Linked DNA regions of Homo sapiens: all the other regions are linked to region 3. The links are contacts of gene promoters, found by promoter capture Hi-C in blood cells and fetal thymus (Javierre and others, 2016). All regions are on one chromosome and are shown on one strand. Each heading gives the region's core, a stretch centred on a gene start or on the middle of the fragment in contact. The rest is flanking DNA. Distances are from core to core; before and after follow the strand shown. Region 1 has its middle 63 kb from the start of MINDY3. Region 2 has its middle 20 kb from the start of MINDY3. Region 3 holds the start of C1QL3 (complement C1q like 3).

The links. The method cuts DNA at HindIII sites, captures the fragments that hold promoters and counts their contacts. A CHiCAGO score of 5 or more calls a contact.
Region 1: a fragment that was not itself captured here is called in contact with the fragment with the promoter of C1QL3 in region 3 in 3 of 17 cell types (endothelial precursors, megakaryocytes and M2 macrophages); the score reaches 9.6 in endothelial precursors.
Region 2: a fragment that was not itself captured here is called in contact with the fragment with the promoter of C1QL3 in region 3 in 7 of 17 cell types (endothelial precursors, M1 macrophages, M0 macrophages and 4 more); the score reaches 12.2 in endothelial precursors.

Annotation. Positions count from the first base shown.
Region 1 is chr10:15,920,936-15,925,220 of GRCh38, reverse strand. No RefSeq gene overlaps it. Among named protein-coding and RNA genes, the nearest start is that of MINDY3, 63 kb to the right of the region's middle. The HindIII fragment of the contact is 925 bases long and covers 1,630-2,554 here.
Region 2 is chr10:15,878,783-15,883,195 of GRCh38, reverse strand. No RefSeq gene overlaps it. Among named protein-coding and RNA genes, the nearest start is that of MINDY3, 20 kb to the right of the region's middle. The HindIII fragment of the contact is 2,358 bases long and covers 976-3,333 here.
Region 3 is chr10:16,519,406-16,524,341 of GRCh38, reverse strand. It overlaps C1QL3 (complement C1q like 3), which reads left to right and starts at 2,463. Exons shown (of 2, transcript NM_001010908.2): 1 at 2,463-3,864. The coding sequence starts at 3,277. RefSeq lists silencers at 2,523-2,752, 3,023-3,242, 3,553-3,612 and enhancers at 3,912-4,412, 4,413-4,913. The HindIII fragment of the contact is 3,157 bases long and covers 1,651-4,807 here.

The sequences.
Region 1 (4,285 bases), core at 843-3,342, 600 kb after region 3:
TCAGACAAAATAGACCTTACATCAAAACAGACTACAAAAGCCAAAAAGGACGCTATATATCAATAAAAGGGTCAAGACAGCAAGAAGATATAACAATCAAAAACATATATGCAGCTAATGACAGACTATCTAAATATGTGAACCAAGAACTGACAAAATTGAGGAGAAGAGTAGGCAGTTCTATAATAGTAGGTGAAGATTCCAATACCCTACCCTCAATAATTAATAGAACAACCAGAAAAAAAATAAGTAAAATAATAGAGGACTTAACAGCAACAACAACAAAACCTAGATCTAACAGATATATAGAGAACTCTCTATATATTCTTCCCAAGTGCATGAGACATTTTCCAAAATAGAGCATGTGTCAGGCTAAGAATTAACTCTCAGTATATTTTTTTAAATACATATAACACAAAATACTCTCTTTGACCACAATGGAATGAAGTTAGAAATCAACAAGTGAAACTGGAAAATTTACAGATTTCTCAAAATTAAACAGTATGCTCTTAACCAATGGATCAACAAAAGAAACTAATTCAAAGGGAAATTAGAAAATCCTTAGATATTGTATAGCACAACTTATGGAACACAGTAGAAGGAGTGTCAATGGTTAAATTTATAAACACTTTTATTAAAAAACAAGAAAGGCCTCAAATCAACAACCTAAATTTATAACTTGAGAAACTAGGAAAGGAAGAGCAAACTAAACCCAAGGCTAGCAGGAGAGAAATAATGAAAATTAGAGCAGAGGTAAATAAAATAGAAAATTAAAAAGCACTGGAGAAAATCAACAAATCCAAAAGTTGTTTCTTTAAAAGGATCAACAAAATTGACAAACTTTTAGTTAGACTAATCAAAAAAAATAGAGAAGACTCAAATTATTAAATAAGAAATGAAATTGGAGATATCACCAATTCTAAGAAAGAATAAGGATTATAAGAGAACACTCTAAATAATTGTATGCCAACAAATTGTATATCCTAGATGAAATGGACAAACTCCTAGAAACACAAAACCTACCAAGACAAAATTAGGAATAAATAAAAAATCTGAATAGACCTATAACTAGTAAGGAGATTAGATCAGTAATAAAAAATCTCCTGACAAAGAGATGCCCTGGACACAGTGGATTTGCTGGTGAATCCTTCTGAACATTTAAAGAACACAAATTTTTCTCAAACTTTTCCAAAAAGTTGAAAAGGCGAGAACATTTTCTAACTCTTTATGTGAGGCCAACATTACTCTGATACTAAAGCCAGACAAAGAGAATTACAGGCCAATATCCTTTGTAAACATCGATGCAAAAATCCTTAACAAAATACTGGCAAACTGAATTAGGCAGCATGTTAAAATAATTTTACACCATGACCAAATATCATTTATTCCTGGGATACAAGAAGAGTTAAATATAAGAAAATCAATCAATGCAATGCACCACATTCAAGAATGAAGAAAAAAACGATCATGTCAATTGATGTAGAAAAAGTACTTGACAATATTCAACACTCTTTCATAATGAAAACACTTAACAAACTAGTAATAGAAGAAAACTACCTCAACATAATAAAAGCCATATAAGAAAAAACCACAATGAACATTTTACTTCACGGTGAAACACCAAAAGCTTTTCCTTAAGATCAGAAAGAAGGTAAGAATGCCAGCTTTAACCACCTCTATTCAATATTGTACTGGAAGTTCTACCCAGAGCAACGAAGCAAGAAAAATAAATAAATGCATCTAAATTTGAAAAGAAGATATAAAATTATCTCTCAATATAAGTTTGTATGTAGAAAACTCTGAAGATTCTACGAAAAAACCTGACAGAACTAATAAATGAATTCAGCAAAGTAGCAGAAATTAATGCACAAAAAATCAGCTGTATTTCTAGGTACTAACATTTTAACAATATGAAAAAAATTATAAAAAAAAATTTTATTTACAATAGCATCAAAAAGATCAAAATACTTAGGGACTAACAAAGGAAGTAAAAGACATATACAGTGAAAACCACAAAATCCTGCGGAAAGAAATTTTAAAAGATAAGTAAATGGAAAACGTATCCCATGTTCATGGATTGAAATAATTAATATTTTTAATATGTTAATTCTATCCAAAGTGATTTACAGATTCAACACAATCCAATCAAAATTCCTACTTTTTGCAGAAAAAGAAAACCTTATCCTAAAATTCATATAGAATCTCAAGGGCTGCAGAATAGCCAAAGCAATCTTGAGAAAAGAACAAAGCTAGAGGACTCACACTTCCGGATTTCAAAATTTGCTATAAAACTGCAGTAACAAAATAGTGTATTACTGGCATAAAGACAGACATATAGAGCAATGGAATAGATTAGAGAGCCCAGAAACAATCCCTAATATATAATCAGTCTTTTCAACAAATGGCCCTGGAAAAAAAATGTATATCCACATGCAAAAGAACAAAGTTGAACCCTTACCTAACATTATATTAAAAAATTAACTCAAAATAAATCAAGTACCTAAATGTGAGGCCTAAAACTATGTAACTCTTAGAAAAAACCACAGGGAAAGCTTTATGAGATTGAGTTTGGCAATGATTTGAATGTGACATCATAGTATAGGCAACAAAAGAAAAAAAATAGAAAAATTGGACTTCGTGAATTTTTTAACATACATCAAAAGACACTATCAACATAGTAAGTAGACAACACACAGATTGGGAGAAAAGATTTCCAAATTACATATCTGATTCTGATAAGGGATTAAAATCCAGGCTATATAGAAAACTTCTAAAACTCAAAAACGACAACAAAAAATCCCAATTTAAAATTGGGCAAATAAGTAATATGAAATAATAAAAATTATATACAAATTGTCTCAAGAAATAGAGGAGGCAAAAAAATCTTCTCTACTGATTTCATGAAGCCACATGGTTTTTTTAAAAAACTAATTAAACATTTCAAAAATATTATTACAGACAAATAACCCACATGATCATAGACACAAAAATCAATAAGATACTGCAATTTAAACCCAGGAATATATCAAAAGAATAATAAATACATCATTACTAGGTGGAGTTTTCCTCCCCTGATCCCCAAAGTGTAAGGCTGGCTTAACATTCAAATATCAATCAATGTAATTCAACATATTAACAAAATGAATGAGAAAAATTATGTAATTACCTCAAAAGATGTAGTAAAGTATTTGACAAAAGTCAGCACTCCTCATTGATTAAAAAAATTTCTGCTGCTGCAATTATACCAATAGTTCAATATCAAGCCCTGCCCCTTACAATCAGGAAAAAAGCGAGACTATCAATTTTCACCATGTTGTACAACAATGTAGTAAACGTTCTAGCCAAAGCAGTAAGAACAACAAAATAAATATTTTTAAATTTCATAATTATTGGAAAGTAAAGAATGAAATTGTCACTATTAGCAGAAAACATGATTATGTACATAAGAGAATTCAGCGACACTTCCCGAGCCAAGATGGCCGAATAGGAACAGCTCCGGTCTACAGCTCCCAGCGTGAGCGACGCAGAAGACGGGTGATTTCTGCATTTCCATCTGAGGTACTGGGTTCATCTCACTAGGGAGCGCCAGACAGTGGGCGCAGGCAGTGTGTGCGCGCACCGTGCGCAAGCCGAAACAGGGCGAGGCATTGCCTCACCTGGGAAGCGCAAGGGGTCAGGGAGTTCCCTTTCCGAGTCAAAGAAAGGGGTGACGGACGCACCTAGAAAATCGGGTCACTCCCACCCGAATATTGCGCTTTTCAGACCGGCTTAAAAAACGGCGCACCACAAGACTATATCCCACACCTGGCTCAGAGGGTCCTACGCCCACGGAATCTCGCTGATTGCTAGCACAGCAGTCTGAGATCAAACTGCAAGGCGGCAACGAGGCTGGGGGAGGGGCGCCCGCCATTGCCCAGGCTTGCTTAGGTAAACAAAGCAGCTGGGAAGCTCGAACTGGGTGGAGCCCACCATAGCTCAAGGAGGCCTGCCTGCCTCTGTAGGCTCCACCTCTGGGGGCAGGGCACAGACAAACAAAAAGACAGCAGTAACCTCTGCAGACTTAAGTGTCCCTGTCTGACAGCTTTGAAGAGAGCAGTGGTTCTCCCAGCACGCAGCTGGAGATCTGAGAAGGGGCAGACTGCCTCCTCAAGTGGGTCCCTGACCCCTGACCCCCGAGCAGCCTAACTGGGAGGCACCCCCCAGCAGGGGCACACTGACACCTCACACGGCAGGGTATTCCAACAGACCTGCAGCTGAGAGTCCTGTCTGTTAGAAGGAAAACTAA
Region 2 (4,413 bases), core at 905-3,404, 640 kb after region 3:
CACCAGCCTCTTTCTAGAAAACCCAACCTGTGACAACGGCTCAGCACTCTTGCCCTTAGGAGAACCATGTCATCTCCCAAGTTCCCTGCAGATCAGTTTCCCCTGAATGAAATTCCAGTCTTGCTACCTGTTATAGTAATTATGTTCATCTTTCTTCTGATTCTTAAAGGCTGCCTCCTGGCCTCTGCTTTCCTGGGATCTAGTACCCTCGTTGCTACTAAAATGCTCGGTTCTGCAACACCATCAGCTACCTTCAGCCCCAACCTACAGAAGACAGACTTTCCTGAGGTTCTCAAAATGCTGGTGCCCCTTCACCTCACCAGGGCATTTCTTATCAATTGGGCAAATGTAGTATTTTCTAGACCCTCCTGAGGACAGTCAGCTGGTGGGTTTTCTGGTTAGGTACAGTAGACTCATTATAGCATTTTCAAGTCCTTGAACACCCCTTTCTCCACAATCTCTCATGGATTTTCTGGCATCTCTACTTCTGTTAAGAGGTGTATCAGTTTTTCCAAGCTAAAACCATGCTTACTAACTGTTATTTAGCAACACATCAAGAAACTTTATAATAGAGAAGTCTTGAGAGTCACCACTTTTGTCACTCAGGTGATCAAAGTAAACACCATTGGACAAATTAAAATCACATGAGAGAATGCAGTGAGAGCACAATATCCCCTGTGAGAGACTCCCACCCAGAATCCATAACCTAGATCTCCTCATGAGGAAACATGAAACAAACTCAGATCGAGTGACATTCTGCAAAACAACTATCCTAGTGTTAAGGTCATTGTCGTGGGCAGAGCTGTGTCACCCCCCAAATGCATATGATGAGGCTCTAACTCCCCAGTGTGACTATATTTACAGATAGTGCCTTTAAGGGGGTAATGAAGGTTAAGTAGTCATAAGAATGGGACCTCCCATAGAACTGGTGACATTCCAAGAAGAAGAAGGGAGAGCGAGTGTGCTCTCCAAGCTTGCACAGAGGAAAGGCTGTGTGACCACACAGAGAGAAGGCAGCCGCCTATTAGCTAAGAAGAGAGGCCTCACAAAAACGAACCCTGATTACACCTTAACCTTGGACTTCCAGCTTCTATAACTGTGAGAAAATGAAGGTCTGTTGTTTAAGCCACTCCTTCAGTGGTATTTTCCATGGCAGCCCAAGCTATCACAGCCACATTTATGGAGATCTGCATTTTTCTACCATCCCTCTCTCTTTTCTTCCCTACTTATTGACATTTTAGCTAATATTTCCTAGCTTTATGATTCTTTTTCTAAATAAGGAACATTTCTTCTTGTATCCTACTAGGGCTGTAAACAATGTCCAGAGATTTACTTCTTTGAGTATTTTCCAGGGGAAGTGTGTTGTGTTCTTGCAGCTCCAAGTCTGTTTTCTAGGAACTTCAACAAGGATAAATCAAACTCTCATTTTTATCAGTTCTAAGTTAAAGAATATGATGCAATATAATATATGACCACTTTGCATAAAATTTCTGTAAAAACAATTAAGAGCTATAATTTTTAACGAATAAAAAGCATGCTTACTGCTATCAAGAAATATAAAGTCTCAAAATTAAAAGTTCATCCTCATTAAAAAAATCACTGTTCACTTCCCTGACATAAAGGAAAAAGGGCAAAAGTGTACTCTGTTATCTCTCACAGAATGGATAAGAAACTGCAAACAAACTTTAAGAGAGTGTAATGGCAGATGGGAATTGAATAATAACAAAATAAGTCTTGGATCTGCCCTCATTCTCTTTTGTGCCAGGCAAAAGTATATTTTCCGCTCTTCACTTACTACCCCAATTAGAAAAAAAAAAATGCCAGATCTGAAAGTCAAAGAGGTCCTGCATGCACAATTTAAACCTTATTGAAGATAGAACCATATGGCAACACAATTCATGGAAAGGATAGGGGGAAAATATCTATTATCACAATTTAATAAAAACAACACTTGGCGGGGGGCGGTGGCTCACGCCTGTAATCCCAGCACTTTGGGAGCCTGAGGTAGGCGGATAACGAGGTCAAGAGATCAAGACCATCCTGGCCAACATGGTGAAACCCCGTCTCTACTAAAAATACAAAAATTAGCTGGGCATGGTGGTGCATGCCTGTAGTCCTAGCTACTCGGGAGGCTGAGGCAGGAGAATCACTTGAATCTGGGAGGTAGAGGTTGCAGTGAGCTGAGATCGTGCCACTGCACTGCAGCCTGGTGACAGAGCGAGACTCTGTCTCAAAATATATATATATTTTTATTATATATATTAAAATATATATGCAAACATATATTTGTACAAATATAAATATATATATTTTACAAATATATATGTACAAATACAAATACATATATTTGTAGCCAGATGCAGTGGCATGTGCCTATAGTCCCAGCTTCTCAGGAGGCTGAAGCATGAGGATCACGAGCCCAGCAATTCAAGGCTGTAGTGCGGCATGATCACGCCTGTGGATAGCCACTGCACTTCAGCGTGGGCAACCTAGTAAGACTCCCATGTCTAAAAGGAATAAACAAATAAAAGTAACATTTGTACTATTCTATACACTGTATTTGTCCTCTAAACTTATTCACTTACTCTACAACAGAGCAACTATAGTTAGAGTTAAAATTTCATCTGTTCAGTCTCCATTGTGGAATAAAAAAGAGAACATAATTTAGAGAGATCCAGCTTTTAAGTCTGGGCTCCAACTCTTACTTTCAGAGTAACTTTTGAAAATGTATCTTAATTGTGAAATGGGGATTGTGACAGAGTTGCATAATAAGAATGAATGAGAATAAACTCAAGAATAAATTTCAGAATGTGTCTGTGAACCACAGATATATGCTGTGTAAATGAAAACTACACATTCAAACTTAAACCAAAGGAAAATGATTTTAAGAATATTTCCCAGTCTATTAATAAAAGAAAGAATATGTTCAGTGTATTGATAATTGCATCATTTAATATATAGCCCCTAACTTGGATGTCTGCTCCCAAATAAATCTTATTTTGTCTACTTTGAAACTGAATTTTTCATCTGCTAACCTATTCATCCAATTTATCCAAATGGTTCTAAATGTTTGTTTCATTTCTTGATATTTCTGTTGTTTACAGTTTTAGCATTACTAAAGAACTGTATCATTTTCAATTACTGTTTTTTCTGATCATCCATTACAACAATGTAGGACTAATTAGCTTAGAAGAGCTGGCTGTTGCTGAAATCCCTGAGGAGAATCACAAGAAGTCTCAAACTAATTTCTCTGTCAGTGGCTCATGCCAACTTCCTATTACCACCTCCTGTGATCATGCTGTGACTTTGACAACTACCCTTGAGGAAAAAGCTTTGCCAGTTTACAACAGTGAATTGCAGGCAGAACAAAGAATGGGGTAGAGTCTGATGTCATCCTTTCTTTCTTCTCTTTATGACAGGGCATATGAGGTTACCCATCTCAAGCTGTCCACATGACTTGCCACAACTCGAAAGGGATCTCCACAGTGTTGTTTCTGGCAACACATAGCTACAAAGAGATCTTTTGGCAGAGCTGTGACCCATGTCCCATGTTATATTTAATGGTATATGTAAAGAAAAAAACACAAATCTTGACTTGCTTTCCTTGGTATTGCAAAAAACGTGAATTTTTTTTTTACTAATACCCAGTAGTTTTTTAAATTTATAAAATGAAAATAAGATGAGAATTTTCAGGAACAAAAATATTAAAGCAGATATTCTCTATATATCAGAATCTATAACTACCTATTATGAATATTATTTTCGGTTTTTCATGACTTTGTAGACAAAATAGCAGACATATAGTGTGCAATTTCTAGACTTAATATACATGAGAAGAATTCAGGCAGTTTTGCTCTGCAATATAACTTTAACCATATAACATTTTTTAAAACCCTAAAGTCAAAGTTTCTCAGGGTGCAAAAGCAGCTCTAAAAAAGCTGAGATGCTTATCAGTGCAAGTAACGACAAAATATTTTTCTTTCACAACATTCAAATTATAATACAATGGCACCACCTGTTGATGGAATGGCAGAATTGAATCCTAAGACTGCAACACAATATCAAATGTTTACTGGAATTTTAAATCAAGGGATAGAACATAGGTCATTGACCATTGAACAGATAATATATCAGTGAGATGGCTAACTCACATTTGATGTGGTTATATCAATTGCTACTTTGACATTCTGGCATTCTGTAGAATGGCACAGCATTTCCTTAAGTGCTAATCATTGCATGAACATAAGAAAATGTATAATTAAGATTAGTTTTCTTACATATATTTAAATGTAAGTTTTAGAGAAAAAGTTTTTCTAACATTAAGTTTTTTCTTCCAACACATAGTTACACTGGATTGAATATGAGTGTTCTGCAGAACACATTTTGGGAAAACTAAACTCACTTTTTGGAAAC
Region 3 (4,936 bases), core at 1,214-3,713:
TCCATGTGTTGCCCAGGCTTGTGCAGTTAATAGAAAGTCTGGGGTCAGCCACGTGGCCTGGGAGGGAGTGACTTCATGATGAATGATGACTGCTGAGTGCCTTTCTAAATCTCAGCAGAGCTTTAAAATGTGAGGGCACTCACTTGCAAAATCAAATTTGCTTTGGCGTCAGAGAAAGTAGGAGGAAAGCCTCAGTTACTAGAACTAGTATGGCCAGTCTCGGGCTGGGATGGGATATATCCATATTGTGTAGAGGGGAGTACAGCAGCAAGCTCATTGAATGGCATTGATCCTCCTGGAAGCTCTCTGTTTCGGTCTCATCATCTGCATGAACAGAGAGTCCATTTCAACTCTTAATATTTTATAAGCATTGATGAGCATTTTATGAGCATTTGACTCCAATATATCTTAAGCGTTAGTCAATGGGAAAACTCCACATAGCTTGAGGTTTTGATGAGAACTTCTCTATACATCTCTACCTTTTAAAAACTCCTTTTGTGTCACCTACAGAACTCTTCATAGCAATAGAGAGGCCTTATGAAATTTGATAATCTGGTGCATCAGAGTTTTATTAATATCCTACCCCCCCAGTGCTGGCAGCAAACCTCACCATTTTGTCCTCCAAAAGGAAGGTGACTTTTAAGAAGCAATCCAGAAGGTGTGTTAGGAAAGTAAGTATTATGGCCAGGAGACAACTTATTATGTGTTTGCTCCTTAAAAATATGAAAATAAGGCAGCTCATGTGAACAAAAATATTATGGAACTATGTGTATAATTATGCCCAAGCAATAGGCGCGCATTTATAAAACCACTACCCTAAAATAAAAGTTAAGGGCTTGAGAAGTGGGAAGCCCTATTTTCCAATACCAGGAGCAGTGTGGCTCTCTCAGTAGCCAGGAGGTGGAGACCCCCACCCCGCTGAGCCACACAGCACAGCTTTTAGGGTTGATTCTCCCAGCCAAGGCCTGAAGGAGCTACTGACATTTCTCTTAAAAGAATCATTCAGTCTTTGTTTCCTTCTGTCTGCTCGTTTGACCTTATTTTGTTTTGAAACAGAGAAGAAAGAAAGAAAGAAAGAACTAAATTGGTGGGGTGGACTGGAGTAGGCTGGGGGGCGGGGAGATTGAGGCACAGGGAGGAAAGGAGAAGTCCATGCTGTGACACCCGCAGACAAGATCACAGGCTGCTGATCGTCACCCAGGATGTTACTGTTTGCTTGCTGTAGTCTTATTTGTTCCTGCTTTTCTCATTTCAGATTCTCACCCTGATGTAATAAGTCACCGTCTTCCCAGCCATCATCCTCGTATTGACAAGCAAATGTCACCCACGTTTGATTGACATCTGTTGCTCCTGAATGCAAAAGTATGATTTAGGATTCAATTCTACTTATTTATTTAAAGCCATTCTTGTGTGTCTTATGTATTTGTTGGTGGGGTAACTTGCCTGATATCTACCCTGGAGGCCTTCCAGTAATATGATAAACCATGCTGTTCCTTCTGCAGCTCACCCACTGAGAATGGGGGCTCTTCTTTCTTGTATTTCTCCTACTTCTCCCCTCCCTCAATGTATATTCGGGAAATCTGCTATGGAGCTTATAGAACTCTTTCCATATGCTAGGAAAAGACCTTGCCCAGCACTTGTGCAAAAGCTTCTTGCTTGATCTTTTGACGCCATTTTGACAAGTGGTTATTTCTTGTACATTTAGCGACTTTAAGTAAACGCAACTTCAGGGCCATTGGCGGTATCCCCCGAAAGACTGCTAGAACTGTAAGACTGTAAGCACAGTACGTATGTATGCACTCACCACGGTGCAGCATTTGTAAAAAGGACCAACCCCCTCCTCCCCCAGAGGCGGTGGACATGTTCATTTAAAATCATTCACAAATGTTCTTTGGCTTTTCAACATACCTCACTGTTCTTGGGGCAACATCTTATTCATTTACAAGGCAGAGGAGGAAAACCATCAGGTTAAAAGAAAATCACATCTACCATCTGGAAAATTCTAAAAGGCCCTCCTTCTGTTAACAGTGGCATTTTGAAAACACCTGAAGCACTGATTGTAGAGGAGCTAGCAAAGAAACTGTCAACTCAGCCACCCTCCTTTCAACCTTCACCTCCACCCTCCAACTGGGGCTGCTGGCAGTGGGGAAATCGGGGATTTAGGTGTGACCCTTGAGCTCTGAAAGCTGTCGCACAGCTGTCTCCCTTCCCCAGGTGGGTCCAGCAGGACCTGCCATCGCTTGGTTCAGCAAGGGAGTATTCAGAATCTCACTGTTCATCCATGTGCAGAGAGAGAAAAAAAGAGAGGCCGAAAAAAAAAAAAAAATCCCACATTGTCAGAGTAATGCCAAACTCTCTCTGAGTGGGATGAGCAGAGCAGATGCTGCAATGAGATGCCAAAGCGGCTCCCCTTCCTCTGTGCCTTGGGTGCCTATAAATTGCTCCGGCGCGCGTTTGTCAGCCTCCTCTTCTCCTGGCAGGTGGTACCCAGGCAGAATTCTGCCTTCAGTCTCTCTCTCGCTCCGCTCCCGGCCGTGAGGCGCTCGCCGCTGCTCGCTCGCTCCTCCGCCCCAGCTCTGAGCCTCGCCGTGCCGACCGTGCCCGCCGCCGCCGCCGCTGGGCGCACCCGGGGGACGCCCGGGCCCACGCGGGGCTTTGGGGTGCGCGTCTATTCGAGTTGTGGTGGTGGCAAAGGAGGAAGAGAGAAAGGAGGCAATAAAAAAAAAAGGCAGCGGACGGGCGAACTGAGCGAGCGAAAGAAGAGGAGGAGGAGGCAGAAAAAGGCAACTTCAGACGGAAAGTTGGTGCGAACAGGCGCAGTCTGCAAAAACGGAAAAGTCGATCGCAGGCGGCGGCGGCATAAAAGTGTGAGCTGCCCGGGCGAGCTCAGGAGGCGGCGGCTGGCTCTGCCCTCCCGGTGGCCGCGCCGGCGCCGGCTGCAGCCACAGGTGCGAAGGAGCTCGCGGGGGGCGAGGGCGCCCCGCGCACCCCTCCCCCGGCCCCCACCCCGGGCTCGGGACTTCGGCTCAAGTCACTGGGCGCCCGCGCTCCCTCCCCAGCCGCAGCCTCCGCGGGGGGAGCAGGAGTCGGCAGCAGCGGCCGGCGCACGCACGCCCAGGGGAGTTGGGGTTCGCAGGGGGTTGTTTTCGGCTCTGAAGAGGTCCCCGCCCAACCTTCAAAATTCTGTCCAAAAGCAGACAAGAGGATCGCCCCGCGCTGAGCCGGCTGGTGGGCAGCAGGAGGCGCCTGATCGCCGCCGGGGCGCTGGGGGTGGTGATGGTGCTGCTGCTGGTGATCCTCATCCCGGTGCTGGTGAGCTCGGCCGGCACGTCGGCGCACTACGAGATGCTGGGCACCTGCCGCATGGTCTGCGACCCCTACGGGGGCACCAAGGCGCCCAGCACCGCTGCCACGCCCGACCGCGGCCTCATGCAGTCCCTGCCCACCTTCATCCAGGGCCCCAAAGGCGAGGCCGGCAGGCCCGGGAAGGCGGGTCCGCGCGGGCCCCCCGGAGAGCCCGGGCCACCCGGCCCCATGGGGCCCCCGGGCGAGAAGGGCGAGCCGGGCCGCCAAGGCCTGCCGGGCCCGCCCGGGGCGCCCGGCCTGAACGCGGCCGGGGCCATCAGCGCCGCCACCTACAGCACGGTGCCCAAGATCGCCTTCTACGCCGGCCTCAAGCGGCAGCATGAAGGCTACGAGGTGCTCAAGTTCGACGACGTGGTCACCAACCTCGGAAACCACTACGACCCCACCACCGGCAAGTTCACCTGCTCCATCCCGGGCATCTACTTCTTCACCTACCACGTCCTGATGCGCGGAGGGGACGGCACCAGCATGTGGGCTGATCTCTGCAAAAACAACCAGGTGAGCGCGGGCGGGCGGCGGGGAGGGCGGGGAGGGAGCGCGGGAAGGTGCGGGCGAGAGGGAGGAGACCCCGGAAATGGGGGTGGGAGCCCGCGGAGGAAGGGCGCGGCGGCCGGGCTCCCTGGAGCGACGGCAAGGGGGGACGCCGTCCCACCCTGGAGAGGCGGGGGTCGTGCGCGCAGGAGGGCGCCCCGCGGCCTGGAGAGGGCAGTTCCGGAGTCTGGGACCCTCGATCGGTGCGCGCCCCTGCGAGCGCGACCCTCGAGGGGCGGGAAGCCGGGAGCTGGGTCCCGGGGACAGCTCGTGCGCTGGGGAGTCCCGGCGCGGGAAGCGACCCCTGGCCGTGGGATCCTCCGCAACAGAGGGTAGCTTACGGGCTTTCTGGGGAGTGGAGAGGCCTGGGGGAGTCCGGAATGGGCGTGGCAGGGTGACCGACTCGGGGGTGGTAGACAAAGGCCGGAGGGAGAAACAAGGGCCCCGAAGGAATGAGTCCAAGCAGGGCTCAGCCACAGCGGAGGAGCGACCGTGGGGCTCGCCGTCGCCGAGTCCTTGCGGTGTCCCAGGCCGTGAAACTCACATATAGTCAATTTCAAGGCGCAAACTCCAGTTTCGTCTTCAGCCAAAAAATAGCGGAGGGGAGAGGCAAGGAGTGCTGATAACAAAAAGAATAGTTGAGATTCGGGGGTTCATGCGGTGAAACACAGCGCGCAGCCAGACTCAGAACCCAAACTCTCTATGGAGTCGGAGGACGCTCAGGCAGGTGGCCTGGGGGGCGACCGGTTCGAGCCCAGCCCCGGGTCTATCGGCCTCTGGACCAGCCGGCCAAGAGGATTTGATTCCCTGAGCCGGTCGGCGCCGCTACAAGGGCTACGCATGGGTCTGCAGTATTCTGCTGGGGCCACTTTACTGTGGAGAAATTCGAGGTCATTGCAAAACCGAAGCTTGTTTGATCTCTTAGTCAAAGGAGGAAAATAATATTTGTAACTACCTAAAAGTGTAATGGGACCTTCTGTGCACGCTGAATCAGTAGCCACTGAGGCGAGGCCTTGCAGCCTGCAGCCTGCGGTGTGGG